Linked DNA regions of Homo sapiens: all the other regions are linked to region 3. Evidence: promoter capture Hi-C in 16 types of primary human blood cells and fetal thymus (Javierre and others, 2016). All regions are on one chromosome and are shown on one strand. Each heading gives the region's core, a stretch centred on a gene start or on the middle of the fragment in contact. The rest is flanking DNA. Distances are from core to core; before and after follow the strand shown.

The links. Contacts are between HindIII fragments. The CHiCAGO score rates a contact against its expected background, and 5 or more counts as called.
Region 1: a fragment that was not itself captured here is called in contact with the fragment with the promoter of ELK1 in region 3 in 4 of 17 cell types (monocytes, naive CD4 T cells, naive CD8 T cells and 1 more); the score reaches 5.8 in monocytes.
Region 2: a contact is called between the fragment with the promoter of ZNF157 here and the fragment with the promoter of ELK1 in region 3, in 10 of 17 cell types (non-activated CD4 T cells, total CD4 T cells, activated CD4 T cells and 7 more). The highest score is 15.6, in non-activated CD4 T cells.

The regions. Positions count from the first base shown.
Region 1 is chrX:47,152,512-47,156,260 of GRCh38, reverse strand. All of the region lies in intron 2 of RBM10 (RNA binding motif protein 10), which reads right to left. Among named protein-coding and RNA genes, the nearest start is that of RBM10, 9.2 kb to the right of the region's middle. The HindIII fragment of the contact is 7,763 bases long and covers 1-3,749 here.
Region 2 is chrX:47,369,279-47,373,166 of GRCh38, reverse strand. ZNF157 (zinc finger protein 157) reads right to left here and starts at 2,589. Exons shown (of 4, transcript NM_003446.4): 1 at 2,427-2,589. The coding sequence starts at 2,498. The HindIII fragment of the contact is 3,930 bases long and covers 1-3,039 here.
Region 3 is chrX:47,649,117-47,653,247 of GRCh38, reverse strand. ELK1 (ETS transcription factor ELK1) reads left to right here and starts at 2,685. Exons shown (of 7, transcript NM_001114123.3): 1 at 2,685-2,825; 2 at 3,222-3,327. It overlaps UXT (ubiquitously expressed prefoldin like chaperone), which reads left to right. Exons shown (of 7, transcript NM_004182.4): 6 at 1,104-1,167; 7 at 1,353-1,452. The coding sequence ends at 1,406. RefSeq lists a silencer at 2,501-2,910 and a cis regulatory region at 2,242-3,222. The HindIII fragment of the contact is 5,079 bases long and covers 1-4,131 here.

The sequences.
Region 1 (3,749 bases), core at 152-2,651, 500 kb after region 3:
GCAAGACAAATCCCAGCAGTCATAAAAGGAAAATGAATAAATCTGGCTTTGTAAAAATTATAAATCTCTATAGAGTGTAAAAAATACGAGAAACTTAGAAGTAAATATGTAATAAAGCAAGTATGGTAAAACGTTAATAGTAGAATCTAGTGGGCTGGGCACGGTGGCTCACACCTATAATCCGAGCACTTTGGGAGGCCGAGGCAGGCAGATCACCTGAGGTCGGGAGTTTGAGACCAGCCTGAGCAACATGGAGAAACGCCGTCTCTACTAAAAATACAAAATTAGCCAGGTGTGGTGGCGCGTGCCTGTAATCCTAGCTACTCGGGAGGCTGAGGCAGGAGAATCACTTGAACCCAGGAGGCAGAGGTTGCGGTGAGCTGAGATTGTGTCATTGCACTCCAGCCTAGGCAACAAGAACAAAACTCCATCTCAAAAAAAAAAAAAAGAAAGAAAGAAGAAAAAAAAAGAATCTAGTGGATGGGTATATATGGTGTTCATTGTAAAATTCTTTTTTTTTTTTTTTTTTTGAGATGGAGTCTCGCTCTGTTGCCCAGGCTGGAGTGCAGTGGCGATCTCGGCTCACTGCAAGCTCCGCCACCCGGGTTCATGACATTCTCCTGCCTCAGCCTCCCAAGTAGCTGGGACTACAGGCGCCCGCCACCACAGCCGGCTAATTTTTTTGTATTTTTAGTAGAGATGGGGTTTCACTGTGTTAGCCAGGATGGTCTTGATCTCCTGACCTCGTGATCTGCCCACCTCAGCCTCCCAAAGTGCTGGGATTACAGGCATGAGCCACCGCACCAGGCCCATTGTAAAATTCTTTAAACTTTGCTACATGCTTGAAATTTCACACTAAACTATGGAAAACACCATAAAGATAAGTAACAAATGGGGCAAATATCCATTAAACATGTTTTCAAACATTTTGGTTGACTTCCATTTTTTTAAACAATTATTTGTTCATGCATTCATTCAACAAATATTAACCTAACATTGGCTATACGATAAGTACTGTTCTAGGTAATGGGGATACTGCTGTGAACAAAATAAAGTCCCTGTCCCCACGAACTCAGCTTGGAACCCAAACTCTTTTTTTTTTTTTTTTTTTTTTGAGAGGGAGTCTCGCACTGTCCTCCGGGCTGGAGTGCAGTGGCGTGATCTTGGCTCACTGCAACTTCCACCTCCTGGGTTCAAGCGATTGTCCTTCCTCAGCCTCCCGAGTAGCTGGGATTACAGGTGCCTGCCACCACACCCAGCTAATTTTTTGTATTTTTAGTAGAGATGGGGTTTCATCATGTTGGCCAGGCTGGTCCCAAACTCCTGACCTCGTGATTCACCCGCCTCGGCCTCCCAAAGTGCTGGGATTACAGGCGTGAGCCACCACACCTGGCCCCAAATTGTTTCCCTACCGTAAATGCCTAGAGAAGAAATCACTGTCAGTGGTATGAGTAGTTATAAGGTTCTTGATACAATCAATTTGAACTGTAGTCATCAAAATTCAAGAACTGGGCCATCATGGTGGCTCACACCTGTAATCCCAGCACTTTCGGAGGCTGAAGCGAGTGGATCACCTGAGGTACGGAGTTCGAGACCAGTCTGGCAAACATGGTGAAACCCCGTCTCTACTAAAATACAAAAATTAGCCGGGTGTGGTGGCACGGGCCTGTAATCCTTGCTACTCAGGAAGCTGAGGCACAAGAATCCCCTGAGCCTGGAAAGCAGAGGTTGCGGTGAGCCAAGATCGCACCACTGAACTCCAGCCTGGAAGACAGAGTGAGACTATCTCCACAAACAAAAACAAACAAACAAACAAACAAAAAAAAAAGGAAAAAAAATCAAGAACTGAACAGATATGAATAAATTTATAAATTTTCAGATGAAATTATCCTGAACTCTCTTGACATCCAATATCCAAACCAAATAAATTCAGGTATTGAACTCTTGCTATCTAAACTCAGGAAGGGAACATATTTGGATAGAAAGGAATATTTTTAATTGGCCACCAAAGCACTCTGAACAAACACCTTCCAAAGGCATATCCCTTTTATAAAGCATTTCTAGGATGCTGGACTGAATCATCATATATGAGGATCTTCACAAAATGAGTATATTTCTAGAAAATATAAAATGCTAAAATTGGCAGAAGAGATGAAATGGTAATCAAAAACCAGCTCCAGATGCTTTTATTTTATTATTTTTTGAGACAGGGTGTCACTCTGTCACTGAGGCTGGAGTGCAGTGGCATGATCATGGCTTACCACAGTCTCAACCTCCCAGACTCAGGTAATCCTCCTGCCTCAGCCTCCTGAGTAGTTAGAACTATAGGCACCTGCCACCACGCCCAGCTAATTTTTGTATTTTTTGTAGAGACAGAGTTTCGCCATGTTGCCCAGGATCGTCTCGAATTCCTGGGTTCAAGTGATCCAACTGCCTCAGCCCACTGCGCCCAGCCTCCAGATGCTTTTAAAGGTGAGTCCTACCAAGTTTTTCGAGGTACAGATAATTCTTATACAAGTTTCTCCAATAAAGAGAGAATAACAAAGGCTGCCCAATTCATGTAATGAGGCTACCTTGATTCCAATGCCAGATAAATACTGAAAATAAAAATATTGGACTACCTCACTGATAAATACAGGTGTAGATATCCTAGATGATACAATGGCTAATAAAATCTAACAAGGTTTTAAAAATATACATAAATCACTTAAATAACATTTCTGCCAAAAACTCATGAGTAAGCATCAGAAAAATCCAAACTGAGAAACATTCTATAAAACAACTAACTTTAAAACATGCTTTCAATATAATCCATAGGTTCAGGAAAAAAAAAAATGACAAGGTCATAAAAGACAAAGATAGAATAACTGTTTCAGATTAAAGGAGACAAGGAGCTCAATGCAATACATGATCTTGGACTGGATCCTGGATTGGGGAAAACCATTATAAAGGACATTATTGAGAAGAGTGATAACATCTGAATATGGGCTTTATATAGAATAAAAGTACTATATAATTGTTTAATTTCCTGATATTGATAAGTATATTGTGGTTATGGAAGAGAACACCTTTGTTCTTAAGACGTACATGCTGCCAGACTTAAAAGGTCATGTCAGGCTGGATGTGGTGGCTCATGCCTGTAATCCCAGCACTTTGGGAGGCCGAGATGGGCGGATCACCTGAGGTCGGGAGTTTGAAACCAGCCTGATCAACATGGAAAAATCCTGTCTCTACTAAAAATACAAAATTAGCTGGGTGTGGTGACGCATGCCTGTAATCCCAGCTACTTGGGAGACTGAGGCAGGAGAATCGCTTGAATGCAGGAGGAAGAGGTTGCAGTGGGCCGAGATTGCACCATTGCACTCCAGCCTGGGCAACAAGAGTGAAACTCTGACTCAAAAAGAAAAGTCATGGCTGCCACCAACTCAAACGATTAAAAAAAACGTGTGTGTGTGTGTGTGTGTGTGTGTGTGTGTGTGTGTGTGTCTATGTAAAGATATAGAGCTATAGGGTGGGCCAGGCGCGGTAGCTCACGCCTGTAATTCCAGCACTTTGGGAAGCTGAGGCAGGTGGATCACCTGAGGTCAGGAGTTTGAGACCAACCTGACCAACATGGTGAAACCTCGTTTCTAATAAAAATACAAAAATTAGCCAGGCGTACTGGCAGGCGCGTGTAATCCCAGCTACTTGGAAGGCTGAGGCAGGAGAATTGCTTGAACACAGGAGGCGGAGGTTGCAGTGAGCCAAGA
Region 2 (3,888 bases), core at 1,340-3,839, 280 kb after region 3:
AGTGCAGTGGTGCGACCTCGGCTCACTGCAACCTCCGCCTCACAGGTTCAAGTGATTCTCCTACCTCAGCCTCCCGAGTAGCTGGATTACAGGTGCCCGCCACCACACCCAGCTAAATTTTGTATTTTTAGTAGAGATGAGGTTTTATCATGTTGGTCAGGCTAGTCTTGAACTCCTGACCTCAAGCGATCCTCCCACCTCGGCCTCCCAAAGTGCTGGAATTACAGGCATGAGCCACCGTGCCCCACCTGAGCTTTATTTTTTGTAGTAATGAGGTCTCACTTTGTTGCCCAGGCTGGTCTTGAATTCCTGAACTCAAGCAATTCTCCGGCCTCTCCCACCAATAAAGGATATTTTAAAGAATACAAATTCAGGCCGGGCATGGTGGCTCACACCAGTAATCCCAGCACTTTTGGAGGCCAAGGCAGGTGGATCACCTGAGGTCGGGAGTTTGAGACCAGCCTGACCAACATGGAGAAACCTCATCTCTACTAAAAATACAAAATTAGCTGGGCGTGGTGGCATATGCCTGTGATCCCAGCTACTTGGGAGGCTGAGGCAGGAGAATCACTTGAATCCAGGAGGTGGAGTTTGCAGTGAGCCAAGATCACGCCATTGCACTCCAGCCTGTGCAACAAGAGCGAAACTCCATCTCAAAAAAAAAAAAAAAAAGAATACAAATAAATCACAGCCAAATAAAGAGATACATAGGGCAAGGCATGTGGGAAGGGGCCTGGAGTCTTCATGCGCTCTCTGGGTGCACCACCCTCCAGGAACCCCCATGTGTTCGGCTACCCAGAAGCTCTCCAGACTTTATCCTTTTGGGGCTTTAGGGGGGCTTCATTATGTAGGCATGATTGATTAAATCATTTGCCCTTGTGGATCGACTTGACTCTCAGCACCCTCTCCCCTCCCAGGTGGTTGGAGGGTCCCAACCCTCTAAACCTACCTTAGTCTTTCTGGTGACCAGCCCCATTCGGAAGCTGCCTAGGGACTGCCAGGCATCAGTCAACTCATTAGCATACAAAAAGACACTTTAGTACTTTAGAGATTCCGAGGATATTAGGAGTTGTTTGCCAGGAAAGACCAATTATATATTTCACAGTATCACACCCCTACAAAAACCTTACACAAACTATTATAGGATCTTTATTCATAATATCCAACAACTAGAAACAACCAAGATGTCTTTCAACCAGTGAATGGTTATACTGTTTGGTACATCCATGCGATGGAAAAGTATCAGCAATAAAAGGAATGGGCAGGGCACGGTGGCTTACGCCTGTAATCCCAGCACTTTGGGAGGCTGAGGCAGGTGGATCACGAGGTCAGGAGTTCAAGACCAGCCTGGCCAACATGGTGAAACCCCGTCTCTACTAAAGATACAAAAAATTAGCCAGGTGTGGTGGCACGCACTTGTAATACCAGCTACTCGGGAGGCTGAGGCAGGAGAATAGCTTGAACCCGGGAAGCAGAGGTTGCAGTGAGCCAAGATCACGCCATTGCAGTCCAGCCTGGGTGACAGGGCAAGACTCTGTCTCAAAAAAAATGAATGAACTATTGATATACTGTTAGCTATTGATATCTCCACAGAATTTTGCTGAATGACGAAAGCCAGTCCCAAAAGGTACATACTGTACAATCTGATTAATATAACAGTCTCTCTTTTTTGTCCTTTTTTTCCTTTTTGTGGAGAACAGGGTCTCACTATATTGCCCAGGCAGGTCTCAAACTCCTAGGCTCAAACTATCCTCCTGCTTCTGCCTCCCTAAGAGCTGGGATTACAGGCATGAGCTGCCATGCCCGGCAAATAAAACTTTTTTTTTTTTTTGAGACAGGGTCTCACTCTGTCACCCAGGCAGAGTGCAGTGGCACGATCTTGGCTTACTGCAACCTCCGCCTCCAGGTTCAAGCGATTTTCCGGTCTCAACCTCCCGAGTAGCTGGGAGTACAGGTGCGTGCCACAACACCTGGTTAATTTTTGTATTTTTAGTACAAACAGGGTTTCACTATGTTGGCCAGGCTGGTCTCAAACTCCTGGCCGCAAGTGATCCACCCGCCTCGGCCTCCCAAAGTGCTGGGATTACAGGTGACAGGCGTGAGCCACCACGTCCAGCCACAACATTCTTGAAATGAAAAAATTATAGTATTGGAGAACAGATTGGTGGTGCCCCAGGGTTAAGAGGGGAGTGATGGAGGAAGTGAAGTGGTTGTGTCTATTTAATGACAACATGGGGGATCCTTGTGGGGATGGAAATGCTCTGCATGTCAATATCCTGGGTATTACGAGATGTTACTACTGGGGACAAAAACTAGGTAAATGGTACATTGCATTTGAATCTACAATTATCTCAAAATATAAATTTAACTAAAAATAAATAAAAAAATAAAGAACATATAGAAAAAAATAGGATCCTCCTCCTTACCTCAAAAGATCTGCCAGGTTCTCCTGGAATCAGGGCAGGGAATCTCTGGGGTGATGTCCCATTAGCTGGCATGTTCACCCTGGGCCTCAGCCCACCTTCCGTGCTGGACAGCTGTCTGTGTGTAGAGGGTCCTGCAGCCTCCAGTAAGGGGTAAGGCTCAATGGCTCCACAGAGACACCAAGAAATCCTAAAAGGACAGTATCCATATCATCAGTGTCATCCCACATTCACGCCACAATGTTCAGCATCCCCAGAGCATGAGTCAAGGTGGATTACAAAATGATCAAATTTGGGGCCAAATTAATGAGCTTGGGGTCCCTTCTTGAGTGGCTCTACCAGGTGCTTCACTCGCTACTCAGCCAGCCTACACCTCAGTTCAAGTTCAAGGCAGATCTGGGTTTAGGAGAAGTAGAACTGGGGCAGTGCTTAAGGGTGCTTAAGGCCCATGGGGTGGGCAGGTTCAAGGGGACCTGGTGGGTGACTGTGAGGGCAGGAAACCTGGAAAGCTGATAATCTAAATGAAAGGAAATCGGCTGGTCCTTTCTTCTGCCGTCTTTTGTTTTTTTCCACTCTTAGATGAAATATCCCTCTTAAATTCTTTTACTGGGAAGCTTTTAGCCTCTTCTTTCCAGAAAAAAATGGTTCAATCTTAATAATGTTATGTATTTTTTCTTTTTTTTTTTTTTTTTTTTGAGATGGAGTTTCACTCTTGTCACCCAGGCTGCAGTGGAATGGTGCGATCTCAGCTCACAGCAACCTCCGCCTCCCAGGTTCAAGGGATTCTCCTGCCTCAGCCTCCCTAGTGGCTGGGATTACAGGCGCCCGCCACCACGCCCAGCTAATGTTTGTATTTTTAGTAGAGACGGGTTTTCACTATGTTGGTCAGGCTGGTCTCGAACTCCTGACCTCAAGTGATCCTCCCGCCTTGGCCTCCCAAAGTGCTGGGATTACAGGTGTGAGCCACTGCACCAGGCCTAATGTTATGTATTACATCAACAAATTACAGAGGGAAACACTCTGCTGTTAACTTACACCAAAAAAGCATCCAACGCAATTCAGCAGCCATTACTAATATAAGCTCAAACTAAAATCATGGAAAAAGTAAATAACTTAAGTGCCACAAAAATCAATTATGAAACATAACTCTGAAACACCATGCTAAAAAGTAAAATGATGAAGCTATTGCCACAAAATTAGTACTGTCTGCTATAACCCAAAATTGTTTTGTGGGCTCTAGCTCACACAAGAGAAGATGAAATAGAGTGGGCTGGGCACAGTGGCTCATGCCTGTAATCTCAGAACTTTGGGAGGCCAAGACAGGAGGGTTGCTTGAGTCCAGGAGTTCGAAACCAGCCTTGGCAACAAAGTGAGACGCTGTCTTTACAAGAAATAAAATAATCCGAGTGTGGTGGTCCACACCTGTAGTGCCAGCTACTAAGGAAGCTGAAGCAGAAGGATAGCT
Region 3 (4,131 bases), core at 1,436-3,935:
TTTCCAACAGTATTTAGTTTCATTTACCCCTCAAACTGACTCCTACATTGACAGCACAATAAAATCCACATTCCTTATTATATTAAGACCCTGTGTGATCTAACCTCTTCCTATCTCTTGGACCTTGTCTTAGGCCACTTTCCCTCCCCACTCAATTTCTAACACTCTGACCTCACTGCTTCTCAAACAGCTCTTTGTTGCCTCTTGTCCTTTTTGTGGAAAAGGCCTTCCTACTGCTTAACCATTAGGCATTCTTCGATTCCTTCTCATTCTTCATTCTTGAGAAAGGCCTTCCTTGACCCTTTATATCAATTAGGATTCTTTTGGGCGAGATCTGATCCAAACTGGCTTAGAGAAAAGGAGTCAACTGACTGGTTCATGTAATTCAACCTCCTTCCTCTGCTGCAACCTTCCCTTGGCTCCCATCTCACTTAAGGTCAAAGCCAGGGTCCTTACCATGGCCTTGTAGGCTTCACACAGTTTGTCTCCCTCATTACCTCTCTGACCTCACCTCTTACATTCCCCCTTCACTTATTCTTCTCCAGCCAGAGTGGCCTCTTTGCTGCACCTCAAACATGCCAGGCACACTCCCACCTCAGTGCCTTTGTGTTTGCTGCCCCTTGTGTGTGGAACACATCCTCCATATAGCCACACTACTCAAAATTCACTGTCTTTAAGTCTTTACTCAAATGCTTCTCCGTGAAGCCATCCCTGAGCCCTCTTTAAAATTGCAGCCCCCCACTCCTGTACTCCTTATTGTCTCTCATTTTTAATTTTTGTTATTGTAGTTAGAACCATCTGACACATAGCTTTTATTCCATTGGTTTTTTGTTATGTCTTTCTTTACAAGAATTTGAAGTCCATCAGGCCGGGAGTTTTGTTTGTTGTGTTTGCTGCTATCTCCCAGTGCCTAAAATTGCCTGGCATACAGTAGGCATTTAATAATCTTTGAATCAGTGAAAACCAGATGGTGGCTTGGCATTTCCACATAGGAATGAGCCAGGTGGAAATCATCCAGGATATAAGTAGATCTTGAAGTGATAAGGAAGGGTCATCATAATCATGTGGGGCCCATTTTGCCCTTTCTTGTTTCTTTTCTCTAGGCTCAGCAACAGCCTCACCAAGGACTCCATGAATATCAAAGCCCATATCCACATGTTGCTAGAGGTGAGAGCAGCTCACCCCACTACCAGACTCTGTGTTTAGGGTGGTGACCTGAAGAAGGAAGAGAGCGAAAGAAGGGAAGGACCATCTTTCCCTCTAAACTGGAGTCAAGGGAGGGAGGTCAGAGCAAGCCTGGGGGCGTAACCCAGACCCAGTCTTTGTTCAATCTCTTCTGTCCTCTTTTTCAGGGGCTTAGAGAACTACAAGGCCTGCAGAATTTCCCAGAGAAGCCTCACCATTGACTTCTTCCCCCCATCCTCAGACATTAAAGAGCCTGAATGCCTTTGAGTCACATGGCCCTTCTTTTTCCCCATAAACCCTGCTAGTTGCCACGGGGGCCTGTTCCTAGGGCACAAAGTTACTGAGAGACCCAGAGATCCAGTCTCTCTGTGGAACCTCCAAAATGCCCCAGCAGTCCTGCCTCCAGCCTGTTGCCTGGCAGTATTTGCCAGTTGACCTTATGCACTGCCCTCTCTTCTGTCATCTTGGCAACCTGGGCCCCCCACCTCACCCTTTCTTCCATTCCTTTTCCTAGACGCCACCCTTTGAATTGCCATAGAGAATGGGCCAATTCATGGTGGAGGTTTGTTCATTCCCACAACAATCAAAGGGCCCTAAGGTTTACGCTTTCACACACCCAATCATTCCCCAGGTACCCCAAATTACACCCAAACCCTAACTCAGCCCTACCTTGTCTTAGCCCCTGCTTGTAAGTGTTCCAGCTTCCAATGGGCACAGACCTGGATCCCGCTCTCCCTAGTCGGGCCCCTATTCTAGGTTGAGTCCAGCCACCGCCAATCAATGCAGAGCCAGGTTCCTCCCCTTTTTAACTCTGGCCGCAGTTCAACCCTGCCCTCTGAAAGCATTTCGTTTCTGCCACTCAATGCTCTTTCGTGTGCCTGACAGCCATCCTGCCCTCCTACCTCCGCTGTGTTCTAAATTCGTCTTTACCCAGCTCTATGGTCTTGTCTAACCGTAGAGCTGCCCTGCCCGCCTACGCGGAGCCCAGTCCGACCCACTCCCGCCGGCTGCTACGCCCATTTCTATACAAGCCCTGCTTCCGCTGAGCAGCATGGCGTGCGACACCGCCCCCTTGGTGTTTTGGCAGGGGTCTAGAAGTCCCTCGTCCGCCAATCAGAGAAAAACAGGGCCACCCACCCCCGTCCTTGGGGGCTGTCTTCCATCAATCCCATGTAAGCCAATCAGTGTGAGGCAGACCCCCGCCCCCCCGACACAGGCCCCGAGCCTTTTCAGTTGCTCACAGTCCGTCAGTCCTTGAGCCAATCGGCGTGGAGCACCGTGAAGGCCGAACGCGCCTCCTCGGGACTCCAGGGGCCGTGAGCGTTCCATCATTTCCCCTTACGCCAATCACGGCACAGCTCTGTAGGGAAGGGCCCGTCCCCCAACCCCTCGAGGCCTTGCGGCCGATTAATAGCGCTTTGGCCAATCAGCGAGCGGCGGGACATTGGGCTCCTCCTCCTCGGGCCCACGTGAGCTGTAGGGAAACGCAGGGGCGGCTTCTAGGTGCTGCCGCCGCCACCGCCACCACCACCTCCACCGCCGCCTCGGAACCCAGGCCTGGGGGGCGGTGGGGCCGCGTATGGAGCCCCCGCCCCCCGGAGCTGCCAACATTGCCAACGCCACCGCCACGCTACACACAGGTGAGCTCTGGGCCTGGAGGGTGGAGGGCCCAGTCCGTGACCCCACGTATCCTTCCCGCCCCCGCGCAGAGGATGTGGCTTGGCCGGTGGCCTGCTGGTGTTCGACTCCCCGCCGCCACCACCACGGCTGGTGGACCTGCGTGTGGCATTGCTCAAGCCCTTCGTCCCTTATAGTGGATCTGACCGTGGCCTAACCTCCCCCTCCCGTTGTATAATGGATCGGTCTGCGTGCTTATGTTTTTCCCCACGCCAACTTAGGGTGGACTCGTCCATAGGCTTTCCCCCTACCCCTACCCCCACCCGCCCCCCACCCACCCCCACTTATAGGGAGCTAGCCTGTGACAGTGTTCAGCCCCCTTAATAGTAGGTGTATCTGAGTGTTTGGATTTCTCCTAGCCTCAACTTTCAGGAGACCCGTCCGTGGCCTTATTTATTCCACCCTTCCTGTACATCGTAGCGAATCAATCCGTGGCGCCGCACTCCTCCGCATCCCTCTTTAACAGTGAGTCTACCTGAGTTTGTATTCCTGCCTCCTCCAGTCCCCCAATGCATCAGTCCATGGCTTTTTTCAAAACCACCCCCCCCCCCCACCACCACCACCACCATTTTATAGTGGATCAGTCTTCATGTTTGGATTCACGTCCCTTTAGCTATCAGTCCATTGCCCTGTCTCCTCTTTTTCGTAGACTGTCGCTCTAGCGCTTGGGGTTCTCTCCTTTTTAATAGTGGGTTAGTTTAGTGCTTTACATCTCCCTATTTTCAGTAGCTCAGTCCATAGCCTTTTCCCTCTCTGCTTTGAATCAGTCTGTGTGATGGCTTTTCTCTCCTCTCACTGTGGTGCAGGAGTCTGTAAGGTTTTCTGCTCCCCTTCCCCTCAGACGATGAGCCTCATCACCCCTCCCTTTGCAGTGGATCTGTTCATTGGCCTTCCTCCCCCACACCCCTGTATGCTTGCACAGTCCCCCGCATACCCTCCCGTGAGTCCAGTGCTTTGTAATTGGGGGAAGATCGGCCGTGTACTTTCAATTTCCTTCTCTTTTTTTTTCCCTTCCCAGAAGAGAACGTGCTGATCCTCTTTTCCTTGTGATGGAGCACTGTACGGCCTTCCCTGTCCTCCACCTCTTAATAGTGGGTCAGCCTGGTCACACTCGTAACCACAAAGACGTTCTGCCTCACTACAATAAGTGAATACATTAGCGCCAGTGATGATAGTAATGCCAATAGGAGCTAGCGTTTATTGAGCACCTGCCGTATATCAGGCAGAGTGTTTCATATGAATGAGTTCCTTTAATCCTCACCACAACCC